3 separate regions of the Homo sapiens genome follow, and all the other regions are linked to region 3. Evidence: promoter capture Hi-C in 16 types of primary human blood cells and fetal thymus (Javierre and others, 2016). All regions are on one chromosome and are shown on one strand. The core of a region is centred on a gene start or on the middle of the fragment in contact, and the rest is flanking DNA. Distances in the headings are between cores, read along the strand shown. Region 1 holds the start of ZNF827 (zinc finger protein 827). Region 2 has its middle 1.6 kb from the start of LSM6. Region 3 holds the start of TMEM184C (transmembrane protein 184C).

What was found. Contacts are between HindIII fragments. The CHiCAGO score rates a contact against its expected background, and 5 or more counts as called.
Region 1: a contact is called between the fragment with the promoter of ZNF827 here and the fragment with the promoter of TMEM184C in region 3, in 3 of 17 cell types (erythroblasts, fetal thymus and non-activated CD4 T cells). The highest score is 9.4, in erythroblasts.
Region 2: a fragment that was not itself captured here is called in contact with the fragment with the promoter of TMEM184C in region 3 in 2 of 17 cell types (total CD8 T cells and fetal thymus); the score reaches 5.6 in total CD8 T cells.

What each region holds. Positions count from the first base shown.
Region 1 is chr4:145,937,567-145,940,266 of GRCh38, forward strand. It overlaps ZNF827 (zinc finger protein 827), which reads right to left and starts at 1,257. Exons shown (of 15, transcript NM_001306215.2): 1 at 799-1,257. The coding sequence starts at 841. RefSeq lists silencers at 1-9, 130-199 and an enhancer at 574-633. The HindIII fragment of the contact is 1,765 bases long and covers 999-2,700 here.
Region 2 is chr4:146,172,694-146,175,466 of GRCh38, forward strand. No RefSeq gene overlaps it. Among named protein-coding and RNA genes, the nearest start is that of LSM6, 1.6 kb to the right of the region's middle. The HindIII fragment of the contact is 223 bases long and covers 1,406-1,628 here.
Region 3 is chr4:147,615,995-147,618,694 of GRCh38, forward strand. It overlaps TMEM184C (transmembrane protein 184C), which reads left to right and starts at 1,403. Exons shown (of 10, transcript NM_018241.3): 1 at 1,403-2,085. The coding sequence starts at 1,963. It overlaps TMEM184C-DT (TMEM184C divergent transcript), which reads right to left and starts at 1,251. Exons shown (of 2, transcript NR_186679.1): 1 at 1,094-1,251. RefSeq lists enhancers at 1,623-1,742, 1,773-1,822. The HindIII fragment of the contact is 5,941 bases long and covers 1,097-2,700 here.

The DNA of each region.
Region 1 (2,700 bases), core at 7-2,506, 1.7 Mb before region 3:
CGCGCCCCGGCGCGCCCCCTCGCCTCGGCGCCGCGGGAGCAGCCGCCCGGCGGCGCGTGTGTACCCGTGTGTTTGTGTGCGGTGCCCCTACACCCTCCCCAGCCGCTCCCGCCTCGCCCGCCCCCGACTCCCCTCCTCCGCCGCCGCCTCCTCCACCTCCGCCTCCTCCTGCTCCAGCCGCCGCCGCCGCTGCCGCCGGCGGCTCGGGGGCCGACCAACCCCGGCGCAACCTTTAGCCAGGGACGGACCTCTCCCTGGATCCTGTACCCGGCGGCTGCTGCGCGCCCTCTCCCCGACACCCCCAAACGCCATGTCACGGCCCCCAGCCCTCCGCGCGCCCCGACCCCCGCACCCTCAGGCGCCGGAATCCACAAGGAATTTTTTTTTTTTTAAGATTCCAACCTCTCCCACCTCCCCCCACCAAACCCCCGATAAAACCCCCGGCATCCACACTACTCCCCTCCTCCCTTCTCTTGCCCCCTCCCCCCAGCAACCCAGAGTGAGGAGGGGGAAGGGGAGGGAAAGGGAAAAAAAAGCCCGATCTCAAGGAAAAAAAGGGGGGGGGTGAGAGAAAGAAAGAAAAAGAGAGAGAGAATAGAAAGGGCACGGGGCTGATCATCACCAACATGGCTGCCTCAGCATAGACCTAAACGAGGAGTAACCCGGGCTGTGTCTTTGTCAGTTTCACCTCTGTAACCCTAAACTAATGCAGAAAACAACGGAGGAGGCTGCGGAGGGGAAAGAGGAGAGGGAGGGCGAGAAAATGGCACGAGAGGAGGTGGAGAAGGGATGACTTACGTGAGGGAAGGCGCTTGGGCTGCTCCTGCTTCCTCCTGGGCATTTTCCCCCTTTTCTCACATTCTCCTCCTTGGTTAATGTGAGATCAAATAAACCCCCGTGGGGGCAGAGAGGCAGACACTGGCAGGAGCGGGGAGGTAGTTGGGGGGCGGGCGGGCGGGCAGGGGGAAACCCCTTCTCCGGTGTGTGCAATGGGTTGAAGCTTGTTTCCTGGAGCCAGAAGAGGGGTTTTCTTCTTTTCTTTCCTTTCTTTTTTCCTTTTTTTTTTTTTTTTAAATTTTTGGTCGTGCACCTGGCTTGTCCCCGAGCGTAATATTCTTCAATGGAAACGGATCTAATAGGTGTGAGTGTGTGTGTGTCCTATGCTCGCGTGTGTGATGGGAGGTATAAATAAATGAGTGCCGGTGCGGCGGTGTCTATGGCCGCGCTCTGTGTCTCCGAGCCCCTAACACTAATGTCGGGATCAAAGGGCAGCGGCGGCGGCAGCACAGCTCACAGCTCGCTCTCTTGCTCTCTCTCTCTCTCTTTCTCGCTCTCTCTCCTCTCGCGCTCTCTCTCTCGCTCTCTCTCTGTCACACACACACACACACAAGAGGCACAGACTGAGGGAAAGAGCGAGAGCTACACACACACACACGCACGCACACACACACACAGAGCAAAGAGGAAAGTGCCCCAAGGCTCCCAGGGCGGACTCAGCCTCGGATTTACAACCGCTCTGTCTGGAAAGAATGGGGGGCGCGCGTGCGGGGGTGGGATGGAGTTCTTCAAATTTATCCCGCTAGTCACCAAATCTAGGGGGAAAAAGTTTTTCTCACTCTTTAAACAACGATTAGTTCATTATTTTACTGACTTTTAAAAAGGAAATAAATTTCTCTCTTCACTTTCTTTTGTTTATTAAGCTACATTTTGTTCTGTATGAAATTCTGCAGGCTTTTGTCCCTACCCCATCACCTTAAATCTGGAGGTTATCGTCTCCCACACACTCTTCAAAAACATTCCAAAAAAACTAATTTAAAAAAAATGAAGACAACATATGGTGAAATCAATAACTTGGTTGACAGTTGACAGAATAAGTGCCCAGTTTTGGAGTGTCCACTGGAGTTAAAACTGAAAAATGCTCCTAAATGAACATTACAGCTACTTGACAAAGAGAGGAAAATAAGATTAGGTCACCCCTGATGGTTGCTTTAACTGCTACGTGATACTCCTAGAGTGCACACAGCAATCTTTACTTCGGAAATTCACTTTTTCCCCTGCTATATACTGCAGGTATATGAAGTTTACCCTGAAGCAATTCCAGTGTGCATTATGAGCCCAATATAGCAGTTTTCATTAACTGATACATACTTTCATTACCTTACAAATCACACATCTTTCTTCAAAGAGAGACATAAAGGAGAAAAATAGAAAAGGACGGGTCTCACTAGAGCACAAAAGGTACTTGGTGAAAGAGGACTGTTCTCTTTGTGACTTGCAGTCATTTGGATAAAAGTTCACTCAGAGGTTGTTAATGATTTAAACTCCAAAACCTGCTACTATAATTGAAATAAAAATGGTCTGAAGAAGAGTTGTTTCATAAAACTCTCTTTGTAAGAGGAAACTTTGAACTTAGCAGAATACATTATATGTCATGAGTCATGTAGCTAGAAAATAAAAAGGTGCATTATTTAACTACATCTTCCCTTTTTAGCTTTTTTAAAACTCTGACTCATCATCTTATTATGTTAAATATTTTCCTACCAATTTTTAAATAGACCTTTTCATCAAAGAAAGTGGAGGCACAGTAAAGACATAGAACATTAAAATGACACTCTATAAGCCTACATGGATAACTCATGCCTCTTTGAGGTTGAGTTAATTCTTACAACTTCAGTGGTGTTAAAGAGAGCCATGGGGGTT
Region 2 (2,773 bases), core at 267-2,766, 1.4 Mb before region 3:
TCCAACAAGACCAGCCAGTATTCTTGGAAGCTTAACATCCATGTTACATATTAAAATCTGCTTTGGAGAGTGTTGGTCAATCCAATTACATGTTTGTATTTATCATCATCATCATCATCATCAACAACAACCACAACAACATCACAATACATTCATCTACATGTTCACAGGGCTGTTGGGTGTTTAATAAGCTAGACATGAGACCATCTTTTATGAATATGAAACATTGAAGGACATAGTTATTTAAAGGCATATGTACTATAGAACTGTAGAAGGGACAAACAATGAAGTGGCAAGAGTTCTCTTAGCATTTATATATCTGCATTTGTCTATTTTAAGCATAATAGCTTCAAGAGAATGAAAAGACAAGCCATAAACTGGGAGAAAATATTTGTAAAACACATATCTGATAAAGAACTATTATTCAAAATATACAAAGGACTCTTAAAACTCAACAAAAAGAAAGAACAAACTGATTCAAAATTGGGCCAAAGACCTGAACAACCAAAGATATACATATGGCAAATAAGTATATAGAAAGATCCTCCATATCATATGTCACTAGGGAATTACAACTTTAAACAACTATGAGATAGTCACTAAGCAGCTATTAGACTAGTCAAAATCCAAAGGACTGGAAGCACCAAATGCCCATGAGGATGTGGAACAATGGAAACTCTCATTCACTCCTAGTGGGAATGCAAAATGGTACAGCCACATTGTAAGACAGTTTGGCAGTTTCTTACAAAACTAAACATACCCTTGCTATATGATCTAGCAGTCATACTCCTTGATATTTGCCCAAATAAGCTGAAAACTTATTTCTATACAAAAACCTGCATACACATATTCATAGCAGCTTTATTCATAACTTCCCAAACTTGGAAGCAACCAAGATGTCCTTCTGTAGGTAAATGGATAAATAAACTGTGGTACATCCAAATAATGGAATATTATTCAGAACTTAAAAGAAATGAGTTGTCAAGCCATGAAAAGGCGCAGAGGGGTCTTAAATGCATATTTCTAAGTGAAAGAAGCCAGTCTGAACAGGCTACACAGTGGGGTGGTGCAGTGTATGCACCACTAACTGTGTACGGTATGATTCCAAATATATGATATTGTGGAAAAAGGCAAAACTTTGGAGACAGAAAAAAGATCAGCGGTTGCCAGTGGGGAGGAAGGGATAAATAGGTGGAGCACAGAGAATTTTTAGGGCAGTGAAACTATTCTGTATGATACTGTAATTGTGGGTACATTTCATTATGCATTTGTCAAAACCTATAGAATGTGCAACACCAAGAGTGAACCCTAATGTAAACTTTGGCCTTTGGATGATAATGATGTGTCAGTGTAGGTTCATCAGTCCTAACAACTAAATGAAACTAAACTACATAAGTTAAACTAAAGCTTGCCAAAATATTTTTATGACTTTAAGGCTCCTTAATAAATTAATGTTTACATTCAGGGTTTTGAAGACTAGTATTCACCAAAAGTCTTGCAGTGTTTTCTTTGCATCATAAAAGATGCTGAAAGCAAAAACCTGGGAAATACGGAAAATTGCCTTGTGAGTTAGTAAAAGTCATTTATAAGCTGCTGAGGGGCTTTTGGGAACAGCCACACTTTTTATAAGCTTGTTAGCTCATGAATTAATTCAGGATGCCCACCCCGTGTGTCAAACTGGGCCCTTACCCAGCTACTCCCCTTAGAGAAGGTTGCAGCTGCTCAGCAGATGAACTAGGCCCTTAAAACTCCTCATGGCTCCCTACCCACCACACTAGTGTTAACGGCTCGATTAGGGCTCTGTAGGAAAGGGAAAGAAGTTTGAATCAAAAATTTTCTTTTTTTTTTTAATAATTTAAACAATCAGTAAGGAATGTGCAATTTGATGTCGTTTGCAAAGAAAGTTTTTAGGAACAGGGCTTTTTATCCTATTATGTTTGTTCTTTGCACGTAATTATTTGATTTAAATGGTACTTTTCTTAAAATTTTTATTTACATTGTATTTTATATTGCAAGAACTTCAAATACAGCCCTCACAATAAATCAGTAACTGTTCGGTCTTTATCCAAACTGAACTTTTATAGAAGGATATAAGGAAGTCTCTATTCTTTAACAAATCATATCCAGTTGTTTTCTGTCCCTGATATCAATCAAAAGTTCATTTCTTCTGCCTTTAACCAAAAGAAGTTTACAAGGGAGGAACTCTTTATCTTCGAAAAAAATTTTGCATCTTAGATTTTATAACACCTAATGGGGTTAAGGATCTGTGTTGAAAGATCTTATCACTCTGTGTATAGTGTTACAAATCATAAATATAATTAAAGTATAAGTTTTCAACTGATGAGAGTATATGTGGAGGGGGAAAAACGAATCAAGTCCTGGTGTAACAGTTCTCTTCTTTTTCCCTTTCAATTCCATTAATAGAAAGAGTATTGAGAATTCATGCAAAATTCCAAACCAAGTTCCCATAGTAGCACTGAAATAAGTCTGCACACCATTTCCAATAGGAACTAGTAATGTAACACAATTAATGTCATTATAATTTGGAGTTACTTGAGTGATTTTGATTATTTTTGTATCAATTAACATTGCCATGGAAACAGTCTCTTGCTAAAATGGCTTAAGTCTTCACACATTTAATCAATATCCAGAGGTAGATTTAAAGACTTGAGGTGTTTCATTTATTTATTTATTTGCTTTAAACTATTCAAGGACGTTTCTGGGTACACAATGCCGTTACTTAAACAGTAAATTCCAGTTTCCTATGACTTCA
Region 3 (2,700 bases), core at 153-2,652:
CCTGAGTACCTGGGACTACAGGCTCCCGCCACCACAACTGGCTAATTTTTTGTATTTTTGGTAGAGACGGAGTTTCACTGTGTTAGCCAGGATAGTCTCGATTTCCTGACCTCATGATCCGCCCACCTCCGCCTCCCAAACTGCTGGGATTACAGGCATGAGCCCCTGCACCCAGCCTTAATTTCCATTTTTAAAGTAAGCTTAGGAAGAACAAACATAAGGCCTATTTTTCCGGTAGAAAGTAGTTTGGGTCAGGTTGTAAAATACAAATGTTAACAACTGAGAAGTAGGCAGTGAAGTCAAGTCCAAACAGACGATACCAAAAAAGGGGCTCATAATATTCCTTAGGTGTCTCTGTGAGACTCCTGGGCTAGGTGTACTCAATGTTACAAGCCTCCTTATCCGTATGGTCATTAGGCGGAAATTCCCCAGGTGGCAGGTACTAGCAGGTCAAATGCTTAAATATAATGCCCTTTGGAGTCACAAAGACCAAGGTTGCTATCTCCACACTACCACTTAACTAGCTCAGTGAGCCTGGGCAAATTTATCAGCCACTTGACTTTTTTATCTGTAAAGTGGAAAAATGCCTACCTCTCAAAATTTTTGTGCAGAACAACTTACATAATGTAGGTAATGAACTTAGTACAGTGCCTGTCCCCCTGAAAATTACAATTACAATATAAAACGCATTTGTATATGTAATTGAGTAGTAGATATTTGTTTACTCTATTGGTTTAGCTAAAGGCTTTAAGCATATGAAACTCCTTTGTCAGATGGAATGTCAACTTTTTAAAACTTAAATGAGTGCAAATTTTTAACACAAGTTCCAAATGTAGAAGGGACATTCCCTATTTGCGGTTAATTCTAAAATGAAGCTACCTTTAGAATGATCCTTCTGTAGGATCCAGAAATAACCAAGCGGCCTAGCCCCTAGATTCTAGCAACTGACAGAAAACTAGGTGGAGGTTTCCCATTCTTCCTTGTCTTCTTACTCCAGCGGGCTTCTGTATCCACTCTAGATTGAATAGGGGATGTTTTGTGTAGAGATGGGCCTTCTCTCTTCCAGTCCAACTCTGAAGTAACCGCCCCTTACCCAAGCTTTCTTTAAACTGGAATAACGCCAGCAGAAGAATGTAGTAGGTGTGCTTCAAGTGTCCTCAAATAATTCCCGCAGCTTCCAGAATCCTTGCAATAGCCCGCTGGACCATCTGCGGCAATTCCACCCACTTCCACGCACCTGCTCTTCTTTCTAACCCCAGTACGCAATCCTGCAGCCCCGCCCCCACAGCTGACCAATCAGAGGGCGCAAAGTGAGTCGGATGGGGCGGGCCCAGTTTGGCGCTGACGACGAATCACCTGCCTCAGACAGCAGGGGCGGAAGCGGAAAAGAGCTGAAAGTCTTGGTTTGGCCTTGGGTTCCGCTGTAGGGGAGGTCCCGTGCGAAAGAATGAGGAGATCCTGGGGCCTTACCTACTAGCGGAATCGACTGAAGAGACGCCTGCCAGTGCGGGAGGTAGGAAGCTCGATCCCCAAAGAAAAGAGCGAGTGGGCAGGCAGCTGCGAGACAGAACCGGAGTGTGCAGGGTCCCTAGAGGCCGGTTCCTGGTCTGTGCTGCTCTCCTGGAAGCCATGGTACAGGCAGAGCTCAGGGCGATCCCCAGGTGAGGGCAGCGGCTCTGCCTGGGATTCCACCGCAGTACAACCGGGTAGATGCGGGGTGGAGAAGAAAGGATGTTGCCTGCACTGCTCGCCAATAGCACCCTGAGAGGCTACATTTGCAGAAGCAGCAGCAGCAGAAGACACAGCGCCGGTCCAGGAGGCGGCTCGAGCTGTTCGTAAAGTCGCCCGACAGCTTTTTCTCCGTAGTATGCGAGTTGACAAAACAGCCAGAGAACAGGGCTCCCCATTACAATCTTTTCGAGATCTTTTCCCTTGCTAACCGGATCTGATTTGTGCGAAAACATGCCTTGCACTTGTACCTGGAGGAACTGGAGACAGTGGATTCGACCTTTAGTAGCGGTCATCTACCTGGTGTCAATAGTGGTTGCGGTTCCCCTATGCGTGTGGGAATTACAGAAACTGGAGGTAAGAGGGTTCTGCACCATCAGCCTGTACACTTTCTTCTACCCATCTATGGTTGGGAAAGAGACACCCTTACCCCATTTCTGCCCTGACAGTCCTGAAAACCATCTAATGTAAACGAGCCTACTCTTAGGATATAAACCTGTCTAATTTCTTGTTCACGGTTCTTCAAGTCATGCTACAGGTGGAGGTGGGACCGGGTCGAGAAAATAGAATATATTAATATAGCTGCTTAGAAGGGCACTGTTTTGCAAGTATTCATCAGTTCCCTGAAAGTAAGGTAATTTTATTGCTGAAATCTGATCTGTTCAGACATTGGACGAAACTAGGTCAAATAAACTACCTTGAAAACCATGTATTGAATTTTATTAGCTTTTAACTAGCTTCTTGAATCAAAGCGTTCTAGTTGTTTTAACTTTGGTGTCTGTTTTTACTGTGGAAATTAGCTCTTACCCAACAAAGGTTTTGCAAAAAGTCCCTTATATATATTTTTTGATGTCATATGCTTATTGTGACATCAGTAATGTACTACAAGCTGGAAAACCCCAAGGTAAATAACTCAGATATAAATATTATATAATGAACTTTAAATTCGGAGTTAATAAAACCCACCAAGTA